Linked DNA regions of Homo sapiens: all the other regions are linked to region 1. The links are contacts of gene promoters, found by promoter capture Hi-C in blood cells and fetal thymus (Javierre and others, 2016). All regions are on one chromosome and are shown on one strand. Each heading gives the region's core, a stretch centred on a gene start or on the middle of the fragment in contact. The rest is flanking DNA. Distances are from core to core; before and after follow the strand shown. Region 1 holds the start of ZNF330 (zinc finger protein 330). Region 2 overlaps SMARCA5 (SNF2 related chromatin remodeling ATPase 5). Region 3 holds the start of SMARCA5 (SNF2 related chromatin remodeling ATPase 5).

What was found. The method cuts DNA at HindIII sites, captures the fragments that hold promoters and counts their contacts. A CHiCAGO score of 5 or more calls a contact.
Region 2: a contact is called between a fragment that was not itself captured here and the fragment with the promoter of ZNF330 in region 1, in 1 of 17 cell types (naive CD4 T cells). The highest score is 5.2, in naive CD4 T cells.
Region 3: the fragment with the promoter of SMARCA5 here is called in contact with the fragment with the promoter of ZNF330 in region 1 in 3 of 17 cell types (total CD4 T cells, monocytes and naive CD4 T cells); the score reaches 7.2 in total CD4 T cells.

What each region holds. Positions count from the first base shown.
Region 1 is chr4:141,219,587-141,222,316 of GRCh38, forward strand. It overlaps ZNF330 (zinc finger protein 330), which reads left to right and starts at 1,309. Exons shown (of 10, transcript NM_014487.6): 1 at 1,309-1,522. RefSeq lists enhancers at 1,094-1,600, 1,601-2,105. The HindIII fragment of the contact is 10,650 bases long and covers 1-2,730 here.
Region 2 is chr4:143,541,867-143,544,596 of GRCh38, forward strand. SMARCA5 (SNF2 related chromatin remodeling ATPase 5) reads left to right here. Exons shown (of 24, transcript NM_003601.4): 15 at 1,643-1,791; 16 at 1,987-2,106. Among named protein-coding and RNA genes, the nearest start is that of SMARCA5-AS1, 28 kb to the left of the region's middle. The HindIII fragment of the contact is 1,111 bases long and covers 784-1,894 here.
Region 3 is chr4:143,512,303-143,515,032 of GRCh38, forward strand. SMARCA5 (SNF2 related chromatin remodeling ATPase 5) reads left to right here and starts at 1,400. Exons shown (of 24, transcript NM_003601.4): 1 at 1,400-1,799. The coding sequence starts at 1,623. SMARCA5-AS1 (SMARCA5 antisense RNA 1) reads right to left here and starts at 2,535. Exons shown (of 2, transcript NR_104027.1): 1 at 2,143-2,535; 2 at 1,170-1,923. RefSeq lists enhancers at 831-880, 901-990, 1,021-1,090, 1,121-1,490, 1,781-1,840 and 1 more. The HindIII fragment of the contact is 18,533 bases long and covers 1-2,730 here.

The DNA of each region.
Region 1 (2,730 bases), core at 59-2,558:
GACTAAATGTCATAGGTGTATAAAGGTCCAGCCCAGTTCCCCTAACTCAAGACAACTCTGAAGGGATATCCCAGATTCAAAACGAGGCCTTCACTGAGACGTCACTGCAGGTCAACTCTTCCCTCTGCTCAATCCTGCTTCCATTTCTCCTGCAGATGTTGTTCCCCAAAGCATTCCCTAACATACTCATTATACTCTTCTCTGACTCAGAGTATGCTTCCTGGGGAAGCCAACCTAAAACAGTTGGTGTCAGGAGTGGTTCAAGTTAGGCTAAGATGGGATTTATGATTCGAATCACAGGCCATGTGACTATCAATGAGGACCCCCTCGGTGGTAGGTGTAGGACACACAGACCTCGGCACAAGGTAACAGTGCAATAGTTACAACTTTCATCAGTAATGAAACTGGGGTGGTATTCTAACGTAACTGGGGTGGTATTCTAATTTATATACGAGTAGGTAAAATGTATCAGGCATTTGAGAACTATGAGGGAAATAGTAACCTTAATGACAGTGGCATTGACTGTTATTGCTAAGTAAAATTGATTCTTTGAAAATAGCAAAAGGCTGAGATGGTTAATTGGCTATCAAAATCTAAGAGTAAATTCCAGAAGGCCTCTTTGGTCCAAATAAAGAGGCTTTTATCTCCTGCAGGGGGAGGGCAGGAAAAGCACAGGAATAGGCCTGGTACTGAATCCTAAGTGCGGCAGAGCTCCGAAAGAGATTAGGAAACCCAGCTTGGTCGGCTATGCAAAGGTGGAGGTGCTTGATCGGAAGGAGATTCTGATGCAGGGGGAGGATCATCAGGTTTCAGTTAAAAGCAGGCAGATTACACATTAGAGGTAGAGAATGTGGGATGATTTGTTCACAAAGGAATGGAATCCAGAGGGCATAACAGAAATAAGAGACAGGGGAGGCTGGTACGGAAGTTCATCAGGCAACTGAAGGCACAGTTTGCGCAGCAACCAAGAAAAGGTGGGATGTGAGGCACGCAAGATGTAGAGGTGGGGAAAGGTTTCCAACAGAATTCAACATGAATTTGCTGTTTGAGTCAATTGATCCAGTACCAAGTCTGTGAGTTCATTTTCCTCTTCCTTTTAGATTTCTCCTTTTTCTAAAAAAGTAAAACTGAGGGGGCCTTCCCCTGCTTTCCCTCCTTCTGCTTCCCTATTTTCCCTCGCATTCCCTTCCTTTTCTGCAGATCCTCTGCTTAGGAATGGGGCATTGGCCCCCGCAGGAGTGGGCGGGGAAGGGGCGGAGCGAACAGAGGTGGGCGGCTCCCGTCCTATGACGTCAGCCGTAAGGCGCTGCTGTCGTAAAAGGACGTCCGGTCCGTCTCCTAGTGTCCGGAATCGGCTGTCAGCCTCCCTGGCTGTTAGTACCTTCTTTCCCGGAGTCCTGGTCCACGAGTTGGATTTACTGCTGTCGCGGGTGGGCCTCACGCCATTCCCTGTCCCTCGGCCCCCTGAGTGAGTCCGGTCTCCCGGCGAAAGTGAGCGAGGTTTGCCCGGAGCGCGCACGAGGTAGGGTGTCCCGCGGGCGGGTGACGGTTGCGGGTCCCCGTTGCGGGTCCCCGAGCCGCCTGGCACCTCCGCCGCTTCTCCCCTGGACGCCCCTCCGCCCCACTGGGTCCTCCAGCTCCAGGCTGGACTCCTAAAGCCGCAGTGCCCCGTGCCTGTTTCCTCATTTGGTGACACACGCAGTGCATGCAAGAAGTTGGAGTGTTACCGGAAAAGGGCTTGAACCCGTATAAGGCTGAGAAGAAGATTCACTCTTTTGAGCGTGCAGAACAAACTGGAGGGAAAAAAAAATGAGATTTAACTTTATCAGAGGATTCAGAGGATATCTCTGAGGACGCAGAAAGTTAATCCGCATGATCACCTCGTGATTATTTTCTGAGGTTCTTTGGCCAGGGCAGCACGCCCTCTAGATTTTGTCATTTTACATATTGGAATGGTGCCTTAGTGGTCTGGGCGTTACGTTACCGAAATAACCACCTATTAAATCTGGCTATTTTTCAGTTGCTACCGTACTGCTTACCACCTGTTTTGTTTTTTTTTTAATTGAGCATTCAGTTCAGAAAACTTCAGTTTAGAAAAATCTTGTATTTCAACTAAATGATGAAAATTAAACATACTCTTAAACGTAAATTTGAACCCCGTTAAAATTACATGCTCACTGCGTGTAGAGGGAAGAGCATTTGTTAAAGTCAGAGCAACTAATACCTTAAATATCTTCAGAATGTTTTGACTTTGTAGTTAATAAATAGTGTTATTTGTTGACTGTTAGATGTTTTGTTTACATATTACATAGGAAAAATTAAACTTGTTATACTTAAGGTGTTGGCAGCGTCAGGTCATCTGAATATATAGCTCAAAAAAGTGATATAAACTGGCTAAATAATGCTCTTATTAATGATTTTTTTGTTTTTGCTAATGATACATGATTCATTTGTTTTAATGAGGTGCAGAATACTTTATCATTGGAGAAACTTTTTTCTTAGTGGGAAAAGAAGACTAGTTTGTCTTTTAGGGTAAATTTTTTTGACGTTTACATTTTTAGAATCGTTAGTGCCAATAAATGCGTTAAGGATCACCCGCTTCATTTGGAATAATATGTGCTTAACGTTTCATAAGGCTTAGAATGTGCTTAACTATCGAAAGGATAGAGTTTAACATTTAACAAGAAAAAGGACACTTTGTTATACTATTTCTTAGTTTATTAAAATAGT
Region 2 (2,730 bases), core at 89-2,588, 2.3 Mb after region 1:
TTTTTTTTGAGATGGAGTTTTGTTCTTGTTACTCAGGCTGGAGTGCAATGGCACGATCTCGGCTCACTGCAACCTCCGCTTCCTGGGTTCAAGCAATTCTGCTGCCTCAGCCTCCTGAGTAGCTGGATTTACAGATGCCCGCCACCACACCTGGCTAATTTTTTTGTATTTTTAGTAGAGACAGGGTTTCACTTTGTTGGCCAGGCTGGTCTTGAACTCCTGACCTCAGGCGATCCACCCACCTCAGCCTCCCAAAGTGCTGGATTACAGGTATGAGCCACCACGCCTGTCCAAAACACTTTTTTTAAAGATAAAAAAGACCTTAATTGATTCATAATTAATTTAGAAATCTTGAGGTTTTTTTACTTCATATTTACTGTGGCAATTTTTGGAGCAAACCTTCAGGCTAATAGCTTTCTTGTGCCGTTTGTAGACATGTTAGTCAAACAGCAAGCCTTAAGTGCATACCTTTGTGTTACTGTTTTTTATTTGAGGGACATAATTAAAAACGAGAGTACACAAGCACTTTACATCTGAAGGTTCCGGAACCTTCCTGCCCAACTTGGAAGTAGTTTGTATAAGCATAAGAACATTTTGGTAGCAATGGTAGCATCCAATCCAAGGAAACATACCTTGTGGATATCTCCTCACTTACAAAGTCATGGATGTTTGGCTGTATATCCTATTATGGGTCCCAAACCATGATACAAGTATTTAAAGAAGTTGTTGAAAACTTGGATCTTTTTCCACTTACTTACAAGTTGGTTGGCATATAAAAATCAAAGCTTTGTTTAGGTGTATGTGAGTGACCCTTGAGGAGGGTGAAAACAAGTCTTTCTGGGTTTTTGTTTGTTTTTTTATACCTGTATTTTTGAAAAATTACAAGGTTGTCCAAACTCCTGCCAACTGAAAATATTTATTAATTTATTAATGGTGAGTTTCTTCGATGATCCAGATACATTTTCTCACCAGGTGTGGTAGTGCATGCCTTTAGTCCTAGCTACTTGGGAAGCTGAGACAGGAGAATGGCTTGAGCAGGGAGTTGAAGGCTGCAGTGACTATGGTCCTGTCATTGCACTCCAGCCTAAGCAACAGAGCAAGACTCCATCTCAAAAAAATAAACGAATAAAATAAGTTTTTAGGAGTTTCAGTTCTTCTGGAAGTTTTCTTTAAAAAGAAACTGATGTTACATATTTCAGTTCTGTGTAAAGTTTGGCCTAGGTGAAGGATTTTTTACTTTACTTTTCTAAGGAGAAAAGCTGATTTGGGGAGTATTAGTTAATAACACCTTTCTGCTCATCAGAAACTTGTGTGTATAATGCTTCCATCTGTTGAAACTTGTAGGTTTTTGAAAATTTTTCATATGCAGCTTTCACAAAAGATTATATTTCGTTGGCACAGTATACAGCAGGTTTCATTATATAATACATAAGGTTTAGGAATGTTTTGTAGCTTACCAACTGAAAATTTGGCATTAAATTTAGTGCAAAAATCAAAATTATTAGATGTGAATAAACAGTAAACAGAAATGATTGACATTTGAGATAAAATTATAAAGCATTAAACCTTACATTTAAAGTTTCAAGTTTCCAGTAAAATAAAGTCTGTTCAGTTAACATTATACAACACAATCTTTTTTCAGGGAGGCTTGTGGATCAGAATCTGAACAAAATTGGGAAAGATGAAATGCTTCAAATGATTAGACATGGAGCAACACATGTGTTTGCTTCAAAGGAAAGTGAGATCACTGATGAAGATATCGATGGTATTTTGGAAAGAGGTGCAAAGAAGGTGAGATGTAGATTAAATAATGCTTTTAATATAGAATGTTTTAGACCAGAAACAGGAAATATTTGTTACATTGATGATAAATAATTTTATTTCCTTAAAGAGAAGCTTTTGTGTACGTGAAGTTAATTTATTTTGACTGCAGTTTTCATGCTTTCTTTGCTGTGAATCTAAGAAGCTGATTGTTTTGTTCTCTAGACTGCAGAGATGAATGAAAAGCTCTCCAAGATGGGCGAAAGTTCACTTAGAAACTTTACAATGGATACAGAGTCAAGTGTTTATAACTTCGAAGGAGAAGACTATAGAGAAAAACAAAAGGTAATTTAGAAATAGGTTTGGGTTACATGAAAGCTTTATTTTACTGGAAACTTGGAATTTTAAGTGTTACTGTAATGTCTTATAATTTTGCTTAAAACAGTAGTCATTTTTGCTTATTCACATCTGAATATTTTCATCATTATGTAAAATTTAATGCCAGTTTTTCAGTTGGTAAGCTCTGAAATATTTTTAAAGTTTTTGTAATGAAGTTTGTGGTATATGTTTACAGTGAAATATATTCTTGTATGGGATGAATAGTAATTTGGGATGGTAACCTGATTCATTTTATTTTAAACAGCAGAATTGGCTGGTAATAAAGGGAAAAATTTCTTAACTTCATAAGTAATACTTGGTAATATAGAGATAAATTGAAAAATACCCAGAGATTAGAAGAAAAAAATAATTCTACCCAGTGTTTTTCTTGTTAATATTTAGGTCTATATCTTCAGAATTTTTTGTAGGCTAATTATGTGTCTACATTTTTCTCCTAGTTTAGATTTATACCAAACATTCTGTAGCATTTCTCCCTCATTTAACAGTTGTTCCTTTAAGCAAGAAATACTGAATGCTTACTCTGTTGACTAGACACTGTCTCGTGTTAATTATATACATAATATTGAGCAA
Region 3 (2,730 bases), core at 150-2,649, 2.3 Mb after region 1:
TTGCAGTCATATATGAAGACTATGATGAACATCATTGTAGGTATTCATCTTTGCATATATCCTTAGACATTTCCTTATAGTCTAAGAACTAGCATTTCTAGTGGAGTGGGGACATTTTTCCAGATGTCCATTTAAGAATTATCATTCCATTAGTTAAAAAATTTGCAGGCTATATATTCAAAGGGGATCCCTTCTGTTTGGAATTCAACATAACCAGTTAGCTCAAACCTCAACTCTCGAAAAATGTGTCTCCTTTACTCAACAAACATTTAGAGAATACTGAATATGAGGAATAAAAAAAGATAAAAAAGACCCTGTACTGGGCAGGTAATCTACTGTAGTATGCAGATTCGTTATCAAACAGACTACAATGTATTTAAATTTTGTAGGCGATGAATGCACAAGGCCCTTAAGCTGCATTGAAGGCTGCCTAAGGCAGTATACAAAATCAGTGCTGAATATTTGTTAACACTTAAGGAGAATGTACGTTTTAATTTTCATGTTTGATGCTTGGGGAAAAGATTACATCGCACCACCTATCTTCCCCATATATTGATTATTCGTGTTTCTCACTTCCATGGTAGTGTGCACGTTATTTGCTTAACTTTGGCATATAAATTCAGAAGAAATATCATTTAACTCTGTGCCTAAGGAGGGTATTTAGAAATAACCGACGCAGCTAACATGAGAAGGCAAAAAAAAAAAAAAAGAAAAAAGAAAAAAATCACACTAACGGACTTTTTTTTTTTTTCTAACAACAAAAAACCGTGAGACTTCACTTGGGGTAACCATAACGTCGTCAAGGCTGTGGCGTCACGCCTCTAAGCGGATACGGCAGAAGTTTTGGGGCCAGACACAAGACTTCCAAGTTTGAATGGGCAGCGCAAAACCCAGACAAGTTTTCCGGTAGTGCCGCCAACCCCTGTCAGGCACAGAAGACACAGCGAGAACCGTGAGCCGTTACGAAAGCCTAAAACACTGAGCTCGCGTCCTGCCAAGCAGCAGGCGCACAAACCTACACCTCCGAGCGCTCCCTGGAGGTCCCGCCCACTCTTCTCTCCCGAGCCGGCTAGAGATCTGGAAGAGGGCGGGCCAAGGGTGAGGAGGGCAGTATGCGCATGCGCGCTCAGGACCCAGTCAGTGAGCCAATAAGGAATCTCGCGAGTGTTGAAAGTCGGTGGCGTAGGTCGTCGTCCTGGATGCTGGCGAGATAGATGTTATCTTCCAGAGGAAGAGGAGGAGGCGGCGAAGCGTTTTCCCAGCCTCAGTCTCTCTTTCGTTTTCCTTTTCCCTTCCCCCAACCCTCCGCCCTTCTCTAAATCAGCCGGCCTTCCTTGACCTCAGTGACCCGTCTGGCCCCGCCCACCCTCGTCGACGTGATTCCCGCCGTGAGGTAAGCGCCGGTGGAACCTAGAGCCCCGCGGAAGAGCAGAACGTTTGGGAGTGTGCAGCTCCTGGGCCCGGCTCAGGCCCGTCGCGGAGGCGCGGCGCAGGGGAGCGCTCGGGTGGGAGTCTCGCTCCTCCACCAGTTTATTGCGACGTAGCATCCAGGCCTAGGCCTCCCCGTCCATCCCCGCCGGACTCGGGCCTCTGGCAGCAGCGGGTGACGCAGACGGAACATCATGTCGTCCGCGGCCGAGCCTCCGCCACCCCCGCCTCCCGAGAGCGCGCCTTCCAAGCCCGCAGCCTCGATCGCCAGCGGCGGGAGCAACAGCAGCAACAAAGGCGGCCCCGAAGGCGTCGCGGCGCAGGCGGTTGCGTCTGCGGCCAGCGCTGGTCCCGCAGACGCCGAGATGGAGGTGAGGGCGACTTGCGGCATGGGGAGCGGGTGCAGCGGGGAGGAGGAGCTGGCTCCCTCGCCGGATCGTGGCGATCGGACGCAGAGCCGGGTTTCTCTCTCTGCACCAGACTCAGCTTCACACCCTGTGGATACGAAATGATGCTCTCACTCTTGCTCCCTTGTTCTTACCCTATTCGAGCTAAGCAAAATGGATTTCTGGCTCCTCACATTTAAATTATTTGTCTCTTTCGTGAATCCTGACAAATATTTGAACGCTCTCAGTGAACAGATGTTCTTGGTTACCGTGGCCCGGGGGACCCATCGTTTTTTTCCCACTAGACTCCCATAATTCCCTCTCCTACCTCTGAATGTGGTTTTTAGTTTCCACCAAACTTCGGGGAAGGGCGAGGAGATGACCCCTTAGGAGCGGGATGCACGGGCGGGGTGAAGGAGGCATTTAAAAGCAGCGCGTCCGAGGACTTGGGCCTCCTTTTCTTCTTCCCGGTCCTTGCAGGGGCGGTATCTGTTGTGGGCAGAAACAATGGCGAGAGCTGGATGGCCGAGTGCGCAGTGGGGATAAGCGGGGCGCAGCTGCTTCTGTGAAGGGAGAGAAGGCCCCTCCCAGGCACTATTCCACTGGAAGGGAAGCAACCAAGGCAGCAGCAGCTGTCTCGGATCCCCCGTCTAATTTAGGGGGGATGAATAAGTGTAGGAATGAATTAGAGAACCAGGCGCAGTTGGTTGGCTCTCAGTCCGGCACTTTTCTCTTTTTGGCCTCTGGCCTTAAGAAAAAAAAAAATTAGTACCACTCGCTGCCGAGACTTATGGGTTTGGGTTGGGCAGGGGATGCTGACAGTACTGAGGGGGCTGGAAAGATGGGGGAAGCTGCCAGGCGGGTAAATTGGATATGCTTCCAGGCTTTGCATCTGGGAACAAAGTAATTGCTCCTT